Regions from separate parts of the Homo sapiens genome. Here region 1 is linked to region 2. The links are contacts of gene promoters, found by promoter capture Hi-C in human tissues and cell types (Jung and others, 2019). All regions are on one chromosome and are shown on one strand. Each heading gives the region's core, a stretch centred on a gene start or on the middle of the fragment in contact. The rest is flanking DNA. Distances are from core to core; before and after follow the strand shown.

What was found. The method cuts DNA at HindIII sites, captures the fragments that hold promoters and counts their contacts. A contact is called where the count stands out against the background at its distance.
Region 1: a fragment that was not itself captured here is called in contact with the fragment with the promoter of KCNQ5 in region 2 in 1 of the 25 tissues and cell types used here (mesenchymal stem cells).

The regions. Positions count from the first base shown.
Region 1 is chr6:73,235,183-73,240,799 of GRCh38, forward strand. The region is part of intron 4 of LOC122539213 (KHDC1-KHDC1L); the gene reads right to left. Among named protein-coding and RNA genes, the nearest start is that of KHDC1L, 12 kb to the left of the region's middle. The HindIII fragment of the contact is 7,944 bases long and covers 1-5,617 here.
Region 2 is chr6:72,619,285-72,625,107 of GRCh38, forward strand. It overlaps KCNQ5 (potassium voltage-gated channel subfamily Q member 5), which reads left to right and starts at 2,780. Exons shown (of 14, transcript NM_019842.4): 1 at 2,780-3,303. The coding sequence starts at 2,906. It overlaps KCNQ5-DT (KCNQ5 divergent transcript), which reads right to left and starts at 3,395. Exons shown (of 3, transcript NR_186827.1): 1 at 3,248-3,395. RefSeq lists enhancers at 1,165-1,354, 3,465-4,416 and silencers at 2,775-3,034, 4,065-4,114. The HindIII fragment of the contact is 7,455 bases long and covers 979-5,823 here.

The DNA of each region.
Region 1 (5,617 bases), core at 806-3,305, 620 kb after region 2:
TTCTTTTTTTTAAATTTTACTTTAAATTCTGGGCTACATGTGCAGAATGTGCAGGTTTGTTACATAGTATACATGTGCCATAGTGGTTTGCTGCACCCATAAACCCCTTATCTAGGTTTTAAGCCCTGTATACATTCAGTATTTGTGCTGATGCTCTCCCTCCCCTTGCTCATCACCCCCGGCAGGCCCAGGTGTGTGATGCTCACCTCCCTGTGTCCATGTGTTCTCACTGTTCAACTCCCACTTATCAGTGAGAACATGCAGTATTTGGTTCTGTTCCTGTGTTAGTTTGCTGAGAACAATGGCTCCCAGCTTCATCCATGTCCCTACAAAGGACAGGAATTCCTTCTTTTTTATGGCTGCATAGTATTCCATGGTGTATATGTACCACATTTTCTTTATCCAGTCTATCATTGATGGGCATTTGGGTTAGTTCCAAGTCTTTGCTATTGTAAATAGTGCTGCAATAAATACATGTGTGCATGTGTCTTTATAATAGAATGATTTATAATCCTTTGGGTATATACCCAGTAATGGGATTGCTGGGTCAAATGGTATTTCTGGCTCTAGATCCTTGAGGAATCACCACACTGTCTTCCACAATTTCTCATGCCTGTTTTTTGTATAGGTTGTGGTTTAGAAATTTTTTTTTTTTTTTTTTTTGAGATGGACTGTCACACTTGTTGTCCAGGCTGGAGTACACTGGCGCGATCTCAGCTCACTACAACCTCTGCCTCCCGGGTTCAAGCAATTCTCTTACCTCAGCCTCCCGAGTAGCTGGGATTACAGACGTACACCACCACACCCAGCTAATTTTTGTATTTTTAGTAGAAACGAGGTTTCACCGTGTTGGCCAGGCTGGTCTCAAACTCCTCACCTCAGGTGATCAAACCACCTCGGCCTCCCACAGTGCTGGGATTACAGGTGTGAGCTACTGCGCCCAGCCAGGAATCATTTTTACATGGCTCTAAAAAATCAAAAAACAAATTATTTTTTCTTACACATAAAATTATGTACAATTCATTTTGTGTTTATAAATAAAGTTATATTGGGACAGTGCAGTACCATTCAGTTATGTATTCCCTCTGACTAATTTTGCACTGTAATCATTGAGTGAGTAGTTTCGACAGAGACTGCATGACACAGAACGTAAAATATTTACTATCTGGCACTTTATAGAAAAAGCTTGCCTGACTGTTGCTCTGAATCACCAGGAAGAGCTAATTTACTTTGAATACACTATGATATCTATAAAAAAAATTTCCAACAAAATCATCACTTAAGGATACAATTTTTTTTCTTTTTTTTTTTTTTTTTTGAGAAAGAATTTTGCTCTGTTGCCCAGGCTGGAGTGCAATGGCGCAATGTCAGCTCACTGCAACCTCCACCTCCACCTCCTGGGATCAAGCAATTCTCCTGCCTCAGCCTCTCGAGTAGCTGGGATTACACCACGCCCAGCAAATTTTTGTATTTTTAGTACAGACAAGGTTTCACCATGTTGGCCAGGCTTGTCTCAAACTCCTGACCTCAGGTGATCAATCTGCCTTGGCCTCCCAAAGTCCTAGGATTACAGGTGTGAGCCACCTTGCCCAGCGGATACAATTTAATTTAAATTTTTTTTGTCATAGAACTGTGTACTTCCTTCAGTGCAAAATAGCTGAATCTATGACTTTAGTATAGTTGCAACTCACTAAAAAGTGATTTCCTCACGTCCAAAATAGAATGAAAAGACATTAAAACATTTCTGATTGATACGTTTATATTTTCCAGTGTACATTCAGTGATACTTAATAAATTAAGACAGGACTGAAACTTCACATGGGCTAGCTATAAAAGTTTTCCATCTAGTGGGCCAATGATTGGCCTTATATATTACCTATAGTATTTTTCTCTACTATAGGTTCTCTGATTCAACATTAAGTCTAGTGTCCTTGATCATAATTTTTTATTTTATTATATGTATTGGATTTCTCCCCAGTGTATTTCTCAGGTTTGACAGAAATATCACTGCAGGCCAGGCACAGTGGTTCACACATGTAATCCCAGCACTTTGGGAGGCCAAGGGGGACAGATCACTTGAGCTCAGGAGTTTAAGACCAGCCTGGCCAACATGGTGAAACCCCTTGTCTAAAAAAATTATAAAAATTATACGCATGGTGGTGTGCAACTGTAATCCCAACTACTCAGGAGGCTGAGGTGGGAGGATAACTGCAGCCCAAGAGTTTGAGGCTGCTGTGAGCTATGATCATACCACTGCACTCCAGCCTGGGTGACAGAGGTTCTGTCTCCAAAAAAAAAAATTAAATTACATTAAAATATATACATAATAAAAATAATAAAAACCCATTTGACCCATACCTAACAACCTAAATCAAATCACATCTCAGGAATACATTTAAATAATATTATTTAAATGTAAAAAAGAAAACCCAAACCATGCCAGAGGAAACCACTACCAAATATTTTATAGTCATGGGATGAGGAGGGCATTCCTAAGAACTAAACAAAATCCAGAGGCAATAAACATAAAAAGATTCATGAATTCACCTCATAGACATTAAAAATATCTACATAGCAAATACCACCCAAACAATGTAAAAAACAAAGGACACACTGGAAAGAAGTATTTGTGGCTTATTTTACAAACAACACACTAATATTTATAATATATCAAGAGGTACTACAAATCAATAACAACCTAATGGACAACAGCCTAAATAGACAGGTCACAGAAAGTGCAATATAAATTGTGTATACATATGAATGAAAAGGCATTGGAAAACACATATGGGAATCCAATAAGAAGATATTCAGTGCCACTTGTAATAAGATAAACGCAAATTAAAGCAGCACTAGGAAACCATTTTTCATCTATCAATAAGACTGACAAAAATTAAAAATATTTGATACTCATTATTGGTGAGAGTGTAAGGAAATAGATACTCATACACATGTGGTAGAAGTATAAACTGTCAACAATTAGGAAGGAAACTTGGCTATATCCATTAATGCACTTTTAGCAATTTATCCCACAAATATATTCACACATGTGCAAAATGACATATACACATTGCAGTACTGCAGTATTGTTTGTTACAACATAAGGTTGGAAATAACCTAAAAGTCCATCAATATGGAATGGGTTGAATGCTATATCCATACAATGGAACACTATATAGCTATAAGAAATTATGAGAAAGTGTTTCTGCTCTAAAATGCAACCCTCTGCCAGACCTATTGTTAAGTTTTTAAAAAGGCAAGGTGCTAAAGAGTATATTGTATGATGCAATCTGAATATAAAAAAGAAGACATTGTATATGCGTATTTATCTGAGAACCAAGGGTATACAAGGAATTAGAAACAGATTTCCTACAAGAAATGATACTGTATAGCTGAAGGACAGGACTTGGAGGGTATCTTTTTCACTAAAAGCATTTTTTGAATTTTGAACCCAATAAAGAAATTATCTATTCAAAAAACAAAATTTTACGTTTAAATGAAAATGACATAGCTGATATTCAATTATTGGTTCAGTACAATAAAGAGTAGTTCCACATACAGAACATATCTTAAGGCTTCAGAGGACATTCTCTATGGGAAAATAAATATTGACCCTATTGAACAGGAAATATGGTAGCAAAACACACACACACACAAATCCATTTAGCATCATTCTTGGTTTTTTGGTGTTTTTTTGCTTTGTTTTGTTTGTTTTTGAGATGGAGTCTCACTGTATCGCCCAGGCTGAAGTGCAGTAGCATGATCTTGGCTCACTGCAACCTCTGCTTCCCAGGTTCAACTGTTTCTCATGCCTCAGCCTCCTAAATAGCTAAGATTACAGGCATACGCCACCACACCCAGCTAATTTTTGTATTTTTCATAGAGACAGGGTTTTACCATGTTGGCCAGGGTGGTCTTGAACTCCTGACCTCAAGTGATCTGCCTGCCTCGCCTCCCAAAGTGCTAGGATTACATGTTTGAGCCATCGCACCTACCCTGTTGTTTTCTCTTTTTTTTTTTCCAGCTTCCCCATGAAAATACTTCAGACAGGGATCCTTCAGTGGGATCATTGCTTACAGCTCATTAGAAAATGACAGCTCAGCCGGGCGCAGTGGCTTACGTCTGTAATCCCAGCACTTTGGGAGGTTGAAGCAGGTGGATCACTTGAGGCCAATAGCTCGAGACCAGCCTGGCCAACATGGCAAAACCCCATCTCTACTAAAACTACAATAAATTAGCCAGGCGTGGTGGCATTCCTATAATCCCAGGGAGACTGATGCACCAGACTCGCTTGAACCTGGGAGACAGGGGTTGCAGTGAGCCGAGATCACGCCACTGCACTCTAGCCTGGGTGACAGACCAAGATTCCATCTCAAAAAAAGAAGAGAAAAGAAAGACGAAAGAAAATGACAACTCAGACTCCTTAAACTGTACTAAGGTATACACAGACCTTTGCCAGAAGTTTGATTGGAGTTAGAAATACTATGGTACCTTTGACAATCATGAGACTTTTTCCCTAGGAAATTTTTAGTAAAAGCAATGTTGATTATTGTCCAAAGGTCAGGGATATACATTTATCTTTGTATGCCTAGCAAACTAGAATGTGCTTCACTTCTTTACAGGTTATTTTTATTTCAATATTAGAATACATTCCTAGCCATTAAAAAGAATTTCATGGCTGGGTGCGGTGGCTTACGCCTGTAATCCCAGCACTTTGGGAGGCTGAGGCAGGTGGATCATGAGGTCAGGAGATCGAGACCATCCTGGCTAACACGGTGAAGCCCCGTATCTACTAAAAATACAAAAAATTAGCTGGGCGTGGTGGCAGGCACCTGTAGTCCCAGCTACTCAGGAGGCTGAGGCAGGAGAATGGCGTGAACCTGGGAGACAGAGCTTGCAGTGAACCGAGATCACGCCACTGCACTCCAGCCTGGGTGACAGAGCGAGACTCCATCTCAAAAATAAAATAAAATAAAATAAAATAAAATAAAAAGATGTTCATTCACTTTTCAACAAATAATTATTAAGGCACTGGGCTAGGCCTCAGGACTAACTGAACAATTCAATTCTAGAAAGAAAAAAGTGGCCATTTTGTGTAGACAATTTATTTTGGCAGTCTGTGTGACAGTCTGTAAACAACCTGAGTTTTTTTTGTTTTGTTTTTGTTTTGTTTTGTTTTTTTTGAGACAGAGTCTCACTCTGTCACCTATGCTGGAGTGTGGCGGTATGATCTTGGCTTACCGCAACCTCCGCCTCCTGGGCTCAAGCAATGCTGCAACCCCAGTGACCACCTTAAGCAGCTGGGATGACAGGTATGTGCCACCACACCAGGCTAATTTTTGTATTCTTGGATGAGACAGGGTTTCACCATGTTACCATGGTCTCCAACACCTGAGCCCTTCTCAGCCTCCCAAAGTGCTAGGATTACAGGCATGAGCCACAGCATTTGACTACTATAACCTGAATTCTTTCGACATTTTCTCTAAGTGTTTTTCTACTGTGAATATGATCTTTTAACCTTTATTTGGTAATTGGCCTTCTGAAAACCATGTAATTAGCAAATCTTGCTGGCTTCAAATTATTTTCCAAATTCAACCATTTCCTAACACTTCAACCA
Region 2 (5,823 bases), core at 1,530-4,029:
CAACGTCTGTATTCAAAGGAACAACAACAAAGCTTAATCGCAAACACCTTATTTTCTCCAAAGTTAATTCCCGTCTTTTGAGGGAAGTTAGCAGGTAGCAAATAAAGCAAGGTGCAAACAGAGGCTCTTGTAGGAGAGGTTGGCACAGACTCACTTGGCTTTTTCTTTCTGGGCATTGAAAGGTAGGAAGGTTAGAACTTCAGCTAAGCCAGTCTTTCCCAATGGTTGCAGTCAGAGATTGATACAAAACCCCAGAACTGTTTGCTATTTTATCCATTCTCTGCTGGAGATGCAGATTGATTGGTGGAAGGAACAGTGAACTAGGAAGCCAGGTTGTTGGATTCCTAGTAACTCTCACACTACCCGCGAAAACTTGAGCAGGCCCTCTTTTTCTGGGCTGTGTATCCAAATGGCGGTTACTCTAGAAGACATAAGTGAAAGGTCCTTCTCAGCAGCTCAAAACGGCTACCAGTAACCGGGTCTTTTTTATTTTTTAATTAAGCTTAAATGGCATTTGCTTAATCAATAATACAGTTTCACTAGAACTAATGCTGCATCCCCAGAAAAGCATCACTTAGAAATTAAACAGCTGGCTGTCTTCCAGGGAAACGTGTCCCTGTGTCCTGCCTTCCTGAGACTTCTTGCCTGCACGCGGGGCCCAGCCGCGCCAGAGAGATGGAAGTGACTTTACCTACCCAGCGAAAGTAGCAGTCTGCAACAAGGAAAACAGCTAAGTTAAGAGGAAGTGGTTTTCATTTTACTGCTTGCAGAAAGGCCAAGATTTTGACGTTTAAAGCGGGCACACGAGTCATTTTAAGTCTCTAGATCTTTCACCCTGAAAGTCCCTGCACAGAAACTCCATAGGGAGTCTAAATATAGCAACAGCACCCCCTCCCGCCCCCTCCGCCTTCAGTCAGGGTCCCGCGCAGCTCTAGGATTGGAGAGCTTACTCCAGGGCGCTCTCTGCATCTGCCTCGAATAGCACCGCACGGAGCAACCTCTCTCGCACCTCCACAGTGCGTGGGTGTGAAGTGTATTAGGGGAAAGCTAGAGAGTGACTCTGGGTGATGGTGCTCGGCTCACAGTCACATGGCGTCGCCGCCAGCTGCACAGAGCTCCCAGCTAGCTTCTGCTGCCCAGAGGCTTGGGGGGAAGGAGGGAGGGAAGCAGGCTCCTGCTGGTGACCAGGAGCAGGCGAGAGGGCTTCACACAAATAATAGTGATAATAAAGAGTAAAAGCAAAGCATTTAAATCGAGCTATTGCAGAAGACAGAAATCAGCTGCCGCGGGCGTGGGTGTGTGTACAGGGTGGGGGAGAATTGGGAAAGTATTTATCTCGGAGGGGCGGAGACAGCTGCAAGAAGACTTTTGTCTTAGCATTGTTTTAGCCTTAGGAAAGGAAAAGGCCCGAAGGAATCCACCTTGCAACTATCTGCTATGTCTTTGTGGTGGAAGCTTAGTTTTGCCTTCAATTTAATTTGATGATTTTCTTTCATATTTGGGGAAGAGCCACTCTGTTGGAAGAAGTCCCCGAGCCTGGCACCCTTCAGTTTTCCCTATGCTGAATGTGAGATTTAAACTGCCTTTTCTTTGTAATACACTGTTTCTGAAGGCCAGAGGCTGCGGCCAGTGGCACCGTGGCCTCTCTCTCCGCCAAGGGCGCATAGGCTTTGGGCCACCCGGGTGCCAGGGGTGGTGGAAGACCCAGTCAGTTGTTCCTTGCAACAGGTCTCTAAGCTTGTATGTTACAACATAAGGTGGGTGGGGTCGGAACCCCGAAAAGCCGGCGTCCTGGACACCCCATCCTCCAGGTGTTCTTTCCCAGACACTGGGTCCTCGCCGCCGCTGCTGAACTTCTCAATCATATGACTTTCTCGGACTTAAATGGAAATTTCTTGACGGAGGGAACTGGGTTTGTTCTCCCAGGCTTCGCGCTGCAGTCAGGCAGAGCCCCGGGGCAGCTCGCTCACCGCGGAGGAGCCACTTTGGAGTTTTACGCCCTTTCCACACCCCACCCATGGACTGGAAAGGATGTTCAGTTACTCGCGAGCTTGTCTGATACTGGGATGGAAAGTCACAGTCCGCAGGCTGGAGTGAGGCGCGGGAAGATGCCTGGTCCTTGCCTCGCGGACTTGGCAGCCGCGTCCTGCGGGTCTGTCCACTGAACTGCTGAGGACTCGCCCGTGTGCGGGGACCCGAGTGCCACTTCCCGGAGCGTTACCTTGCGCTCCAGCCTCCAGGCTAGATAATACCTGGAAGGCAGGGCAGGGCTGTTCCCGCTCTCACCCCTTGCGGAAGGATGGCAGGATCCGGCGCAGCGACGTAGCAGCGGGAGGGCACAGCGACCTGCATCTCCAGTTTCTCCTCAGGACACAAGGCTGACTTCACCTTCCGGACAGCTGCAAAGCCCCTGCCAGAACCAAACCGAACTCGCGCCTCGGAGAGGGGCTTCTGGGGCCGTTTCGCTGCAGGGCGTGGGGAGTGGAGAGAGGGAAGGGGAAGCCTGGGGCTGGGTGTGCGCGCGTGGGAGCGCGCCTCGGAGCGCCCCGCACTCCCCCACTCTATCCCCGGGGGCAGTTTGGGAAGGAGGGAGTGGTAGTCGCGGGAATGAGGGAGCAAGAGAAACCCTCTCAAAGTGACGCCCCAAACAGGTCCGGATTTAGAATTCGAAGCTAAAGGCTGTTAGAAATTGGGACTCCTCGGCCTCCTCTGCAGCCCCTCCTTTCCCGCCCCGAAGCCCGGGCGGTTTGCTGGCTGCCTGCTTCCCCGCCCCCGGCTCAGAGGTCTCTGGCTGGCGGGCGCCCCGTCGGCCGCCGGCTTCCTCCTTGAAACCCGCCGGCGCACATGAGGCCGCTGCCCCCGCCGCAGGCGCTGGCGGCCCCCTCGCGGTGCCCGTGGTGATGCCATGCCCCGCCACCACGCGGGAGGAGAGGAGGGCGGCGCCGCCGGGCTCTGGGTGAAGAGCGGCGCAGCGGCGGCGGCGGCGGGCGGGGGGCGCTTGGGCAGCGGCATGAAGGATGTGGAGTCCGGCCGGGGCAGGGTGCTGCTGAACTCGGCAGCCGCCAGGGGCGACGGCCTGCTACTGCTGGGCACCCGCGCGGCCACGCTCGGTGGCGGCGGCGGTGGCCTGAGGGAGAGCCGCCGGGGCAAGCAGGGGGCCCGGATGAGCCTGCTGGGGAAGCCGCTCTCTTACACGAGTAGCCAGAGCTGCCGGCGCAACGTCAAGTACCGGCGGGTGCAGAACTACCTGTACAACGTGCTGGAGAGACCCCGCGGCTGGGCGTTCATCTACCACGCTTTCGTGTGAGTACCCGCGCCCCCTGCTATGCCCGCTGCAGGGGACCACTGTCCCTGGCCCCCTGGGGCGTGCTCCGCGCTCGCGCCCTTGGGCCCCCGCGCGCGTGCACACGTGGTGGCTTTTATTTCTTCGCACGTGTTCGTGGTCTTCCTTCTGGAGCCTCTCCCCTCCCCCAGCCCCACTTCTCTCATCTCTACAGCTTGAACCTTTTCCCCGAGGACACCCAATGAACTGCCCGGTAGCTTCAGGCTCCCGGGGCGAGAGCCAGGCAGACGCGGGACTTAGGCTGCGCGGATAATTGGGAGCAATTAGGTCCCAAGATACGTAAACTTCAACCGAACGGGGCGCCCGGGAGCTAGGGAATGCAAAGGGAGGACAGGCGCCCGTGTGAGGCTTGAGAGTATACTGGAGAGGTTAGGAGGTGATGGCGGGGTAGGACGGGGAGAAGTGAGGGGGCATCGAGGGCTAGGTCCTCAGTCCTAGGGGCGGAGTAGGGGAAGCTGCTACTTGGAGAGAGCTGCTAGGTTTTAAGCGCGCCCGGAAACACGCCTCGCCACCACCCAGCCACCACCAACGGAAAATCTGTCAGTGCATGTAGCCCTTCCTGCCACGGAGAAGGTGGCCAAGGTCTAGAGGAGGCCAGCAGGCCAGGCGAAGCAACGCTCCCGCGCTGCAGGGGGCGGGGAGGCAGCGGGGAACCTGGGGCGCAGGAACGCGGGCGGAGGTGCGATAGCAGAAGCGCAAATGGGTCGCCTCTGACAGAGATCGGGCAGTGGGTTAAGTCCCCGTTTGTGGCGCGGAGTCAAAGAGTGTGTGTGTGTGTGTGTGTGTGTGTGTGTGTGTGTAGTAAGCCTTCTCCATCTAGCAGAGAATGCTTAATGAGAAAATGATTGGAAGCAAATGTTTATTTTTCCCTTAGGCATTTAAAACCTTTCAGTGGCTTTAAAGTTTACTACTGTTTTTCCCACAAAGTCCATTCATTCAGTCTCCTATTAGAGTTACGTTTATCTGGGCATTTTAAGGTTGTTTTTATAATGTTACCTCGTGTCTAATTCTTTTTTTCTTCCTCTTCTCCTTTTGCTTCCTCTTTTTTTAGTATTATTATTTCTGCTTCTTTTTTGTTAAGATGAAATATAAAGACATCAACCTTAGAAGACCAGTAGAGAAAGTTGCAGATACTCGCTGATACATTCCTTGTTTCCTAGTAAAATAAGTTTTGAGCACACGGACTAGGTTTCTTTTAGAAATAAGTTATGTCATCCATACATAGCTCTCTCCTGGGATGCAGAATTAGCATCAACACCAGAAACGTGTTTTGAAATAACATGGAAGAAGGGCTGGTTTTGTAACTAGGTGAACCTGGAATTCAACCACATAGGAGTCAGGAAATTGGTGGAGTCTACAATCTGTGGGGCTCTGGTGTCTGGAAAATTTTACAGTCCCAGATTGACGTGAACATGTAGCATTAGGCAGAATATTCCAGCCAACTTTCCGTTTTACAATGCACACAAGGAGAACGGTTGTGTTGCATCATCATTACATCAAAAAGTATAACTTTTATGTAAAATTCACATTTATTTAAATGTGGTTAGGATAATGATAGAGAAATGCAACTGACACTTTTCTCGTTAATCTCCTCTGACCTGATATGTAATTAAACATATTACTTAATAAGCCTGGTAAATTATTTTGACCTGTCAGAATATACTAAAATAATTTAGCAATTATAATGCTCAATTTGGTAGCAAATATATATACTGTATAGGTTATGATTTTTTCTTTACAACAGTATGCTCAAAACATTTCTAGCCTTTCTTTTTTTTATATTATGCATTGTATATTCAGAGAGAGTTAAAGAAAGCCTTGGTTGGTGCACATACTTTGCATCTCCTAACTTGTTCTTGAACATGAATGAGAACTTGCAACACAACATTTTCTTTTCCATGTGTTGGTGTTAACAGGTTTGTATGGGCTTACAGAATTTTAAAACATTAATAAATGATTTTTCCAAAGGTTCAAGGTTGGATACTTCTCTGTCTACCAGGCTTTATCAGTCTAGCAGTATCTTTAGTAGTAGACAGGAAATAAATTGTGTACTTAATAGATGTAGCAAATGTGAAGTTTTGATTATACATTTTAGAGTCTGAAACTGCAATGCCTCAGCAATTAGATAGGGGTGCTATATCCACATTAGCACAAAGAGGGAATGGATAGTATCATCTTTTGGGAGGATTGTGCACAACTAAGCAGACCCTGAGGAAAGAGGCCATCTTTGGCAGTTGCTGCTTGTGATTTTAAATGAGCTTTAGAATAGCCAGACTTTACACATTACATTCATTTATCGAAGTTGCTTTATGCTGTAAGTTTAACTAGACCCCAATAAAATAATTTCGAGAGAGGTGTAACTAACTAATTCCCTGCCAGCTTGGGAATCCCCAAATCTTATTTTAATAACAGTATTTGTAGCATATTAAGGTTCTTGCCAAGAACAAGTGCACCGTGATTAATGAGGTACTTCAGGGGTG